2 separate regions of the Homo sapiens genome follow, and region 1 is linked to region 2. Evidence: promoter capture Hi-C in 16 types of primary human blood cells and fetal thymus (Javierre and others, 2016). All regions are on one chromosome and are shown on one strand. Each heading gives the region's core, a stretch centred on a gene start or on the middle of the fragment in contact. The rest is flanking DNA. Distances are from core to core; before and after follow the strand shown. Region 1 holds the start of SPEM1 (spermatid maturation 1). Region 2 overlaps POLR2A (RNA polymerase II subunit A).

Evidence for each region. The method cuts DNA at HindIII sites, captures the fragments that hold promoters and counts their contacts. A CHiCAGO score of 5 or more calls a contact.
Region 1: a contact is called between the fragment with the promoter of SPEM1 here and a fragment that was not itself captured in region 2, in 11 of 17 cell types (naive CD4 T cells, total CD8 T cells, naive CD8 T cells and 8 more). The highest score is 9.7, in naive CD4 T cells.

What each region holds. Positions count from the first base shown.
Region 1 is chr17:7,418,309-7,424,408 of GRCh38, forward strand. It overlaps SPEM1 (spermatid maturation 1), which reads left to right and starts at 2,016. Exons shown (of 3, transcript NM_199339.3): 1 at 2,016-2,220; 2 at 2,319-2,379; 3 at 2,573-3,324. The coding sequence starts at 2,077. The coding sequence ends at 3,297. It overlaps NLGN2 (neuroligin 2), which reads left to right. Exons shown (of 7, transcript NM_020795.4): 7 at 1-1,552. RefSeq lists an enhancer at 1,500-2,019. The HindIII fragment of the contact is 12,172 bases long and covers 208-6,100 here.
Region 2 is chr17:7,487,427-7,493,501 of GRCh38, forward strand. The region is part of intron 1 of POLR2A (RNA polymerase II subunit A); the gene reads left to right. Among named protein-coding and RNA genes, the nearest start is that of POLR2A, 6.1 kb to the left of the region's middle. The HindIII fragment of the contact is 6,358 bases long and covers 459-6,075 here.

The sequences.
Region 1 (6,100 bases), core at 766-3,265, 71 kb before region 2:
GAGCCTGGGAAGCAGCGAGGAAATCACAGCCCCCTCGCCCCTGCCTCCCTTGCCCCTACCCCGGCGAAGCATGTTCCCCCCGACGCCCCCCTTGGCACAAGTCAGATGAAGCACGTTCTGCCGGGGAGGCCCTCACCTTCCAGAGAGGACAGACACAGATTTCCTGCTGGGGGAGGGAGGAGTCCACGCATCCTGATGCTGCCTGGAAGCTTATTTTCCCGTGGCCAGGACGCATTTCTCTGAGTGGAAACAGGTTCTTGCATGTGGATGTGTGTTTCCCCAGGCAGACGGCCCCTCTCTTCCCAGCACTTCCCTGCCTCCCCCAGGCCTCAGGCCCAGCACCCAGTTCCTCCTCACATGGCAGGTGAGCACAGACTTCTAGTTGGCAGGAGCTGAGGAGGGTGAACAAACCCCGAGGGAGGCCCGGCCCTTGCTCCCGAGTTGGGGGGAGGGGGTGTGGCAACGTGCCCCCCGCAGAGGCCACGCATGTTTGACCAAAGCCCTCATTGTGGTCCGAGGACAGCCTTTTCCCCAGGCCTCAGAGCATTGCTCATCCGTGCCAAACTGGGTAGGTGGATTTGAGCGGAAAGACTCCCAAAATGTGCCAAGAATTTCCCAGTCCCAGGCAGGGCAGGGGAAACTAAGGGCAAGCAGGATACAGGGCGAGGGATGTGGCAGGTGAGGGGGCTCCCGCCTGTGCCCCTTCTCCTCACCATGTCTCCCCCACCCTGCCTCAGTTCTCCGTTCCCCTTCATCTCCGTCCCCCTCTTTGAAGCTGTCCCCATCTCAGTGTCAGACCAGCCTTCTCCTCAGCTGACCACCCTCCTCTGACCCACGCCCCCTCCTTGTCTGAAAGAAAGGAGCCTTGAATGGTGGAGGGAGGCAGTGGGGAGAAAGGTCTCACCGGACAGGTTGGGAGAATGAGGTCAGCGGTGCTGGGGAACAGATGGAGGGGGCAGTGGGGACAGGGCTTGGGCAGACACCAGCAGGAATAATTTGAAATGTGTGAGGTGACTCCCCGGAGGGCCTTGGGCTTGGGCATTTGGGAAAAGAATGATGTCTGGAAGGGCTTAAGGGACACAGTGGACGAGGGGAGAGTCCTCATCTGCTGGCATTTTGTGGGGTGTTAGTGCCAAACTTGAATAGGGGCTGGGGTGCTGTCTTCCACTGACACCCAAATCCAGAATCCCTGGTCTTGAGTCCCCAGAACTTTGCCTCTTGACTGTCCCTTCTCTTCCTACCTCCATCCATGGAAAATTAGTTATTTTCTGATCCTTTCCCCTGCCTGGTCTAGCTCCTCTCCAAACAGCCATGCCCTCCAAATGCTAGAGACCTGGGCCCTGAACCCTGTAGACAGATGCCCTCAGAATTGGGGCATGGGAGGGGGGCTGGGGGACCCCATGATTCAGCCACGGACTCCAATGCCCAGCTCCTCTCCCCAAAACAATCCCGACAATCCCTTATCCCTACCCCAACCCTTTGCGGCTCTGTACACATTTTTAAACCTGGCAAAAGATGAAGAGAATATTGTAAATATAAAAGTTTAACTGTTGGTTGTGCCTGCTCTGTTGTGGGGAGGGCGGTCTCTAAAGAAACAAGCCCTGGGGAAGTGACGAGGGAGGAGGGGTCTTTTCAGTGACCAGCTCTGAGGTCTGAGAGGAAGGGGGAGTGTGTGCTGGGGTCTGGTTGCCATGGTAATGGGTCTGTTTGGCAAATGAATGTCAGGACCCGTGTCTATGCCGAGACTGGAGCCTGGTGTCGTTCTATAATGGAAGGACAAAGGCTGATGGGGGCAGATGTCAAACAGGCCAGAGGCCCAGTGGGCTGGTGTAGGCAGCTAGCTCAGCAGAGGTATGTGAGGTGAGAGGCATGGCCTCTGCCAAGGCCTGGACTCAGGCGAGAGGGTCAGCCACGGGTCCAGGACTCAGGGTAGCCCCTTGGCACACTGGAAGGGAGTGGCCTGGCACCATTGTGACCCGTTCACTCCCAAGACCCTCAGGGACAGGCAGGCAGTCAGTGGACACTGTCGGCACGGTGGGCTGGGGGCGTAAGGGCCCCGGTGGTCCTAGGGACCCCATGGCCATGGTTGAGCGGCCGAGGCCCGAGTGGGCCTCGTATCACAACTGCAACAGCAACAGCTGCCAGGACCTGGGCAACTCTGTCCTGTTGCTGCTGGGCCTCATCATCTGCATTAACATTAGCATCAATATAGTGACCCTGGTCAGGGTGGGGCCAGATGGGAGGGAGCTGGTGGGATAGTGGGGGGCAGGCCTGCCGGCCAGGGCCTACCTGGGATCACTGTGTCTTCCCCCACCTAGCTCTGGAGCCGATTCCGTGGTGTCTTATACCAAGTGTTCCATGATACCATTTGTGAGAAAGGTAAGAGGTCTGGGGGCTGGGACATAGGAGGGGCAGAAACCAAGTGCTCTAGCCTCAGCCCTAAATTAGCCCCTTCCCTTCTTGCTCGCCCCTCTCAGACAACATAGCTGTGTGGCTGCCCTTCCTGGGCCCTGCCTCTCCATGCCTGTAGGAGCTGGCCTCCCCACTAGTCTCACCTCTCCCCCATCCACAGAAGCTCCCAAGTCATCATTACTCAGAAAGCAGACCCAGCCCCCTAAGAAGCAGAGTTCTCCTGCAGTCCATCTTCGGTGCACCATGGACCCTGTGATGATGACTGTGTCCCCGCCCCCAGCTCACCGCCATCGCCGTCGAGGCTCTCCCACACGCTGTGCTCACTGCCCAGTAGCTTGGGCTCCTGACACTGATGACGAGAAGCCTCATCAGTACCCAGCCATCTGCTCCTACCACTGGGATGTCCCTGAGGACTGGGAAGGCTTCCAACACACTCAGGGGACCTGGGTTCCCTGGTCTCAGGATGCCCCAGAGTCCCCTCCCCAGACCATCCGCTTCCAGCCTACCGTAGAGGAAAGGCCCCTCAAAACAGGCATATGGTCCGAGCTGGGCCTAAGGGCCTATGTGTATCCTGTGAACCCCCCACCTCCCAGCCCTGAGGCTCCTAGCCACAAGAACGGTGGGGAGGGGGCGGTGCCAGAGGCAGAGGCGGCTCAGTACCAGCCTGTCCCAGCTCCCACCCTGGGCCCAGCAGTCATCCCTGAATTTTCCCGGCACCGCTCCTCAGGCCGAATAGTGTATGATGCCCGGGACATGAGACGGCGGCTTCGGGAACTGACCCGGGAGGTGGAGGCCCTGTCCGGCTGCTACCCCCTAGCCTCTGGATCCAGCACTGCCGAGGAGACAAGCAAGAATTGGGTGTACCGTTCCCTAACTGGGAGGTGACTGGAAAAAAATAAAAAGGAGAGAGGAGGTGATCTGTGGTGGTGCTGGGGTGCCAGGGCCCACACAGCACCTAGAAGCTGTGGCTGTGAAGAGAATGCTCTCCCTAGCCACAGGGCCCTGAGCCCTGAGGACCCTCATTAACCTTTTGCCCCACAGGCCTGTCCCTGTCCTCAGCCTTTCCTAGGCCCTTCTGGGTTCCAAGGCTCTTACCTGCCTCTACCTTGTTTTCAATTTTTTTTTTTTTTTGAGACAGGGTCTTCTCTGTTGCCCGGGCTGGAGTGCAGTGGTGCAATCACAGTTCACTGCAGTCCCAACTGTCTCCCACCTCAGCCTCCTGAGTCACTAGGACTACAGGCATGGGCCACTAGTTTGTTGTTGTTGTTGTTGTTTGTTCGGTTGGTTGGTTTTTGTGTGGGGGGGGTTGTTTTTGTTTTTAAGACAGAGTCCTATTCTTGTCACCCACACTGGACTGCAATGGCACAATCTTGGCTCACTGCAACCTCTGCCTCCCAGGTTCAACCAATTCTCCTGCCTTCAGCCTCCTGAGTAGCTGGGACTACAGGCGTGTGCCACCATGCCCTGCTAATTTTTGTATTTTTAGTGCAGATGGGGTTTTGCCATGTCGGCCAGGCTGGTCTTGAACTCCTGACCTCAGGTGATCCGCCCGCCTCAGCCTCCCAAAGTGCTGGGATAACAGGTGTGAGCCACCCCACCCCAGCCGCACCACTATTTTTTGTAGAGATTGGGTTTCACTACTTTGCCTAGGCTGGTCTCAAACTCCTGGGCTCAATCGATCTGCCTGCCTCAACCTCTGAAAGTTCTGGGATTACAGGTGTGAGCCACTGTGCCCGGACTGTTTCCTCCCCCTCCCCTGAGGCAGGGTCTTGATCTGTCACTCAGGCTGGAGGGCAGTGGTGCAATCATGGCTCACTGGAGACTCAACCTCCTGAGCTCAAGCAGTCTTCCTGCCTCAGCCTCCTGAGTAGCTGGGACAACAGGCACCACCACGCCCAGTTAATTCCTTGTTTTCTTTAGTGCACAGAGAAGCCCCTAAATTCTACCCCAGGTCCCCAGGCAGTCGTGCACTAGAGGAGAGATCTCCATCTCCATGGCCCTAGCTCCTCAGAAGGCTGGTGCCTGCCAGAGCCCAGCGTTAGGCTGCAGCCACCGGTGAGGCCTGGTTCCCACGTAAGCCCTGATTTATTTGGGGAGGGATGGCTGAGAGGGCGTCTAGTCCTTCACAGTTCCCCAGTCACCCTGAAGGTCCTATACCCTTAAGCAGGATTGGAGCAGAGGAGGAAATATTGGGGCCCCCTTGGCTGGGCGCAGTGGCTAACGCCTGTAATCCCAGCACTTTGGGAAGCCGAGGCGGGCGGATCACGAGGTCAGGAGGTCGAGACCTCTTGGCTAACACAGTGACACCCCGTCTCTACTAAAAAATGAAAAATAAAAAATAAAAAAATTAGCTGGGCATGATGGTGGGCGCCTGTAGTCCCAGCTACTTGGGAGGCTGAGGCAGGAGAATGGTGTGAACGTGGGAGGCAGAGGTTGCAGTTAGCCAAGATGGCGCCCCTGCACCCCAGCCTGGGCGACAGAGCGAGACTCCATCAAAAAAAAAAAAAAAGGCCGGGCGTGGTGGCTCACATCTGTAATCCCAGCATTTTGGGAGGCCGAGGCGGGCAGATCACAAGGTCAGGAGATTGAGACCATCCTGGCTAACATGGTGAAACCCCATCTCTACTAAAAATATGAAAACAAAAAATTAGCCGGGCGTGGTGGTGGGCGCCTATAGTCCCAGCTACTTGGGAGGCTGAGGCAGGAGAATGGTGTGAACCCAGGAGGCGGAGCTTGCAGTGAGCCGAGATTGCACCACTACACTCCAGCCTGGGCAACAGAGCGAGACTCCATCTCAAAAAAAAAAAAAAAGAAGAGAAATATTGGGGCCCCCCTCAAGAGGTACCTCACTGTAACATCACAGCTCTCTGTGACCTCACTCCTTTGATTAACTCACCATGTCACCAGTGAGGAGACTAAGTTCAGAGAAGCTAAGGGTCTTGCTCATGGTTACACAGACACTGAGGATCAAGCTCATGGCCTCAGATGCTCCATCCCATTGCTGCAGAGCCAGCCTGACCCACCAGAACCTCCCACCTTCCCCAGTTCACCATGTGAACTCAGAAACTGAGAAACAGAGAAACTCAGGCCCTGCCTTTCTGCTACACAATTGGGATCATATGCACATGCACACACATACCACTTGAGAACAAGCAGCTGTGTGCGTGAGCCCAGGCTGAGGGAGCTGGACTTCACCTTCCACTCTAGACAGATTCCTGGAATGTGAGCAGACGGACCGTTTACAAATGGCCCTACTTCTCTCATTCAACTAACGTTACTGATCATTTTCAATGGATTCCATTCAGTGGAATCTGAATCTACTCTGCATCTACTCTGTGTTTGGAGGCTGGATGGGATATGATCACTGGCCTTTCTTTCTGCTGAGTGGTTCACTGTGTAAACAAATGGCTTGCAGTCTCCAGGGCACCACAGACCCCAGTGATGCACCTGTTTTAAGTCAAACACTCTTTTTGGTATATTAACAATTACATGTATTTTGTGCTTTGTTAATTTCATGTGGTTTTCTTGTTGTTGTTGTTGTTGTTGTTGGGTTGTTTGTTTGTTTTGAGACAGTCTCACTCTGTCACCCAGGCCGGACTTCTGTGGCGCGATCTTGGCTCGCTGCAACCTCCACCTCTCAGGTTCAAGCAATTCTCCTGCCTCAGCCTCCCAAGTAGCTGGGATTACA
Region 2 (6,075 bases), core at 2,388-4,887:
CCTTTCCCAGTCTTGCATGGTTCATTAAATAGTTTCTCCATTCATCCATTTGCTCAGGCCAAAAATCTAAAAGCCATCTTTGATTCTCTTTCTCACAATCTCCACTTAGTCCATCTGCCAGAGTGTCAGTCCTACCTTTCAAAATATGCCTGGAATCCAGCCATTTATGACCATCTCCACCACCATGTCCCACCATATCCCACCCTACTGTCATCTTTCCTGTGGGGTGCTATAGAGCCCTAATTGGTCTTCCTACAGTTTGTAAGAACAGCTAGAACAGGCTAGAGAGATCTCTTCATCCCTTCCCTTCATAGAATCCTTTCCAGAGGTTTCAGGACTCCTTACTCTGACCTATAAAGTGCTGTTTTATCTGGCTCCTGCTTGCTTCTCCATCTCATTACTAGTCTCCTCTTTGCTTTTCTTGAACCACGCTGACTGCTTGCTCCTCTAACACTGCAAGCTTATTCCCACCTCAAGGACTTTATTATTCACTATTCCTCCTGCTTGGAACAACGTTGCTCAGACCTCTGCTCTGCATGCCTGTTCCTTTATGTCTGTATGTTCTGTGTTGAAATGGCATATCTTTTTTTTTTTTTGGACACGGGGTATCCCTCTGTCCCCCAGGCTGGAGTGCAGTGGCTCGATCCCAGCTCACTGCAGCCTCTTGGGCTCAAAAGATGCTCCCTGGCCAGGCTCAATCACGTCTGTAATCCCAGCACTTTGGGAGGCCAAGGTGGGCAGATAACGAGGTCAGGAGTTTGAGACCAGCCTGGCCAAAATAGTGAAACTCTGTCTTTACTAAAAATACAAAAATTAGCTAGGTGTGGTGGCACGCCTCTGTAGTCCCAGCTACTAGGGAAGCTGAGGTAGGAGAATCAGTTTAACCTGGGAGGTCGAGGTTGCATTGAGCTGATACTGTGCCATTGCACTCCAGCCTGCGTGACGGAGTGAGACTGTCTCAAAAAAAAAAAAAAAAAGGCCAGGCGCGGTGGCTCACACCTGTAGTCCCAGCACTTTGGGAGGCTGAGGCGGGCGGATCACGAGGTCAGGAGATCGAGACCGTCCTGGCTAACACGGTGAAACCCCGTCTCCCCTAAAAATACAAAAAATTAGCAGGGCGTGGTGGCAGGTGCCTGTAGTCCCAGCTACCTGGGAGGCTGAGGCCGGAGAATGGCGTGAACCCGGGAGGTGGAGCTTGCAGTGAGCCGAGATTGCGCTCCTGCATTCCAGCCTGGGCAACAGAGCGAGACTCCGTCTCAAAAAAAAAAAAAAAATGCTCCCACCTCAGACAGACCCCCAACCCCCACCTCAGTAGCTGGGACAACAGGCTCATACCACCATGCCTAATTTTTAAATTTGTTGTAGAGATGGGTTCTCACTATGTTACCTAGGCTGGTGAACTGGGCTCAAGCGATCCCCCTCCTCTGCCTCCCAAAGTGCTGGGATTCCAGGCATGAGCCACTGCGCCTGGCCGATGTCATATCTTTAGGAGCGCTTCCCTGACCACTCTGTTTAAATAGCATCCCCCGCCCTTCCCTTGTTTTCTCTGATCATTCTCTGCTATATTTTCCTTCACAGCCTGTCACTCCAGAAAGGATTAGTTTTTCTGTTTCTTGCTTCCTTGCTAGAGAATGAATTTCATGAGGGACTTTGTCTGTGTTATTCATGTTCCCTTAGTATCTCAGGTAGTGCCTGGCACATGATAGACATGTAATAAAAATTAGTTGAATAAACAAGTGAATGAAATAATTGGGCAAATATGCATAGATAATGTAGAAGGACTTTTATTGCAACATTGTTTGAAAGTGACAATTATAAATTACTCGGTATTTACTAATAGGAATCCTGTTGAATAACTTAGGGTGTATTCTTACAATGTAATAGAGGAACTTCCCAATAAGGTCCCACACTGTGCTGATGCCCTGAGACACTGTGGCACACGGTGGGCACAGTGAGGTATTTTAAATTTCCAAGAGAAACACAGGTACATTTGTCAGATACCCTGGAACTCCTAGTTCCTGGTAGTTCTGTTTCAACATTAGATGGTGCCAAATCCCTTTCTATAATGTCATATTTTTGTGAAACTGGGTTTTTAGCAGTTGCTAAGTACAGGCAAAAATCAGTTTGTAGAAGAAATAAAGGTGGTGCTGTTTAGTCTGATTCCAAGGTTTGAGAGGTGCAGTGCCTAACAGGCGCCATAAGTGAGTGAGATGGTTATTTGGTAAAGAAATAAAAATGTTATTTTGTTTTAATATATTAATAGTATTTTCAACTTGTGTGTATTTTCTCAAATGGCTAGTAAGTTCCTAGGACATAAATGCTTAAGTTGTTTGGGTCTAGGTGCTTAATAAATTGCTGTCTTTTCTTGGAAAGATGGAGTCTTGCTCTGTTGCCTAGGCTGGAATGCAGAGGTGAGATCTCAGCTCACTGTAACCTCTGCCTCCTGGGTTCAAGCTACTCTCCTCCCTCAGCCTCTCAAGCAGCTGGGATCACAGGCATCCGCCACCATGCCCGGCAATTTTTGTATTTTTGGTAGAGACAGGGTTTCACCACATTGGCCAGACCGGTCTCAAACTTCTGACCTCAAGTGATCTGCCCACCTTGGCCTCCCCAAGTGCTGGGATTGCAGGTGTGAGCCACCGCGCTCGGCTGTGGCTCTCTTTTGACCTAGTAAGTGCTGTGAGAGTTACTGAAATGGTAAGGGCACTGTGGGCTGTTGATAATGTTAGGGAATCTATGGATAAATGAAAAAGTTACTCAGAAGTATGCAGAGTGAAGGCCTTATGTTAAAGTGGGAACGTATTTACGGTTTTTTTAAAGCATGAAAAAAAATGCATGCCGTGGCTCATGCCTGTAATCCCAGCACTTTCGGAGCCTGAGGCAGGAGGATCATTTGAGGCCAGGAGTTCAGGACCAGCCTGGGCAACACAGCAAGACCCTATCTCAATTTAAAAATAATAATAACAAATGGGCTGAGCACGGTGGCTCACTCCTGTAATCCCAGCACTTCGGGAGGCCAAGGTGGGCAAATCCCCGAGGGTCAAGAGTTCAAGACCATCCTGTCCAGCCTAGTGAAACCCCGTCTGTACTAAAAATATAAAAAGCAGCTGGGTGTAGTCGTGGGTGCCTGTAATCCCAGCTACTTGGGAGGCTGAGGCATATGAACCACTTGAACCTGGTAGGCGGAGGTTGTACTGACCCAAGATGGAATAATAACAAATAAAAGTATGGGACACTGTTGACAAAGCTCTACCAGAGTCATCTCTGGGGTGTAGGATTGTTGGGCTTCGATAGTGCTCTGCATGTCTTGCAGTTTATACGATGTCTGTATTTTGAGGGACCAACAGACGGTTCAATTTTGGGTAGAAGGATGGGTGAGGGTGAGTAAGGTGCCTCTTGTTGTGAAACAGGTGGTATTTTAGGCTAAAATGTTTTACAGAAGTCTTAGGGGTCAGAGTGTATGGAGGTACGGAGGGGTCTTTGAATTGGCTTTGAGATAGAGCTGTTGTCCTTGCTGTTAGAAGATGGATTTAGATGTTGCTAGGTGAGGGGAAGGTTACAAGGCGGGTTGGTACTAGAGCTTTGTACCAGCGTGTGCACAAAATTTTGGGGAAAGAGGGTGCTGGATTTCCTTCGCAGTAGTTGACCCCTATTCATTAAAAACAACTGTCTATCATGGAATGCATAACTTATTTATACCCTGACTTATTTAAATAAGGATTTAAAGCAGTAATCTGTTCTTTTTTTTTTTGATACGGACTCCAGCTCTGTTGCCCAGGCTGGAGTATAGTGGCACAGTCTGTGCTCACTGCAACCTCTGCCTCCTGGATTCAAGCGATTCTTCTGCCTCAGCCTCCCGAGTAGCAGGAACTACAGGAGCACGCCACCACACCCAGCTAATTTCTTTTTTGTATTTTTAGTAGAGACGGGATTTTACTGTGTTGTCCAGACTGGTCTCGAACTCCTGACCTTGTGATCCACCCACCTTGGCCTCGCAAAGTGCTGGGATTACAGGCATGAGCCACCGCACCTGGCCTAGTTTTTGTATTTTTATTAGAGACAGGGTTTTACCATGTTGGCCAGGCTGGTCTCGAACTCCTGACCTCAGGTGATCTGCCTGCATTGGCGTCCCAAAGTGCTGGGATTACAGGCTTGAGCCACTGCGCCTGGTCAATAATGTATTCTTTTAGGTAGAGTGTGGGCTACATTGATGAGTGAGAAGATGATCCTTGTTTTCAAGTTACCTATAATCTTGTGAGGGATTTCCTATGTATGCAGCAAATAGTTACTGAGCCTCAACCATATGTTGGTTACTGTGCTAGGTGCTGAGGATATGAAGAGAAAACATGACCCTTGCCCTCAAGGATTACAGTCCAATGAGAGAGACAGATGTGTCACCAAGTAATTAAAATTGGGCTGAGAACCTTGCTGGGGTGTGCATAAGACTAGGAAGAGTTAGAGAAGACTTCATAAGGAGGTGACCTCTGAACTGGGTCTTAAAGAATAAATAGAAGTTTACTCCCAAGGGGGTGTGTGAAGCAAAAGGAGATTTGAGAAATCTATTGTATTTAGAACATAAATGTGGGAGGCGGGTAGGAGAATGTGGTACCAAATAAAGCTGTAAAAGCAACTTGAAGCCAAATTGTAATAAGGACCTTGTTAGCTTTGCTAAAGCAGAGGAAAGAGGACGAGTATTTACTGAGATTCAATGACAGCCCTTTTGTTATTGTGGCCTCAGGGGCAGAACCCAAAGAGAACCCAGCCTGACTGGCCACCCCCTCAAGTGTTTAACCTTTATCCTGTAGGCAGTGAGAACCATTGTTGGCCGAAGGGTTGGGGGCTAATTTAAAATGACAGTTTGAGGCCTGGTGCGGTGGCTCACGACTGTAATCCCAACACTTTGGGAGGCTAAGGTGAGTGGATCACTTGAGGCCAGGAGTTTGAGACCATCCTGGCCAACATGGTGAAACCCTGTCTCTACTAAAAATACAAAAATTAGCCAAGTGTGGTGAGCACCTGTAATTCCAGCTACTTGGGAGGCTGAGGCACAAGAATCACTTGAACCTGAGAGGCAGAGGTGGCAGTGAGCCGAGATTGTACCACTGCACTCCAGCCGGGGTGACAGCAAGACCCTGTCTCAAAAAAAAAAAGTAAAATAAAATAAAAAATGAGAGTTCGTGAACTTGGTGATGGAGGGATAGCTCTTCTCATTAACAAGGATATGCGTGTCTGCTGTCTAGGACACCCCCTGACCCGGTCTCAGAAAGCCTGAAAGCAGAATTAGTCATTAGAAGGGTGGTTGGCTTGGTCGGCATAGACTTTGAGCAGAAAGAGGTTGAAAATGTTGAGCCTGATTTCTCTTAGGCCCCTCTGCAGTGTCTGTTGTGGAGGCCAGATACGTAACTGCTTCCGCTTTTTTTGGTCTCATTCAAGGTGAGCAAATCCCCTTCATGTTTCTCACCAGACAATGCAGCTGATGAGGTTCCAGCTTTGCAAATGTAGTCATCCATGAGGACTGTCTTCCTGAGATTTCATCAGGTCATGTTGATGAGAGTTTTGAACCTGTCTGAGGCTGAGAGGTGTGCAGAACTTCTTCAGCTTTGCATCTGTAGACCATTTTGGTTTCTACCCAGCAGTGGCCAATCAGACCTATTATGAGGGGATTACTGGTTTGACTGTCAGAGGGTAACCTCTCTTTTTCCAAGTTTTTTGAGGGTACCTCCCTCCAGTGGAGAGTCCTAAGCAGTAGGTCAATTTAACAGACATTTGTTAGGAGCCCACCATGTTTCAGGCAGGCACATGGGATTCAGGATGGTTGAGGCATTCTGCCTGCCTGAGAGGTGCTTATAGTTATAGGGAAGACAGACCCCCATAGGTCATTTTATTGCATTGTTGTATGTGCAGTGATAGAGGGCTGTGGAAGCACAGAGGAGGGGTGCCTGTCTACTTTGGGCAGGCTGTGGAAAGGCTTCCTGGAGGAAGCAGTGCCTGAGCCGAGTCTTGAAATAGGAGTTTTGCAGTGGGAAGAGCATTCCAAGCAGAGAGGCACTAGCATATAGAAAACCCCGGAGGAAC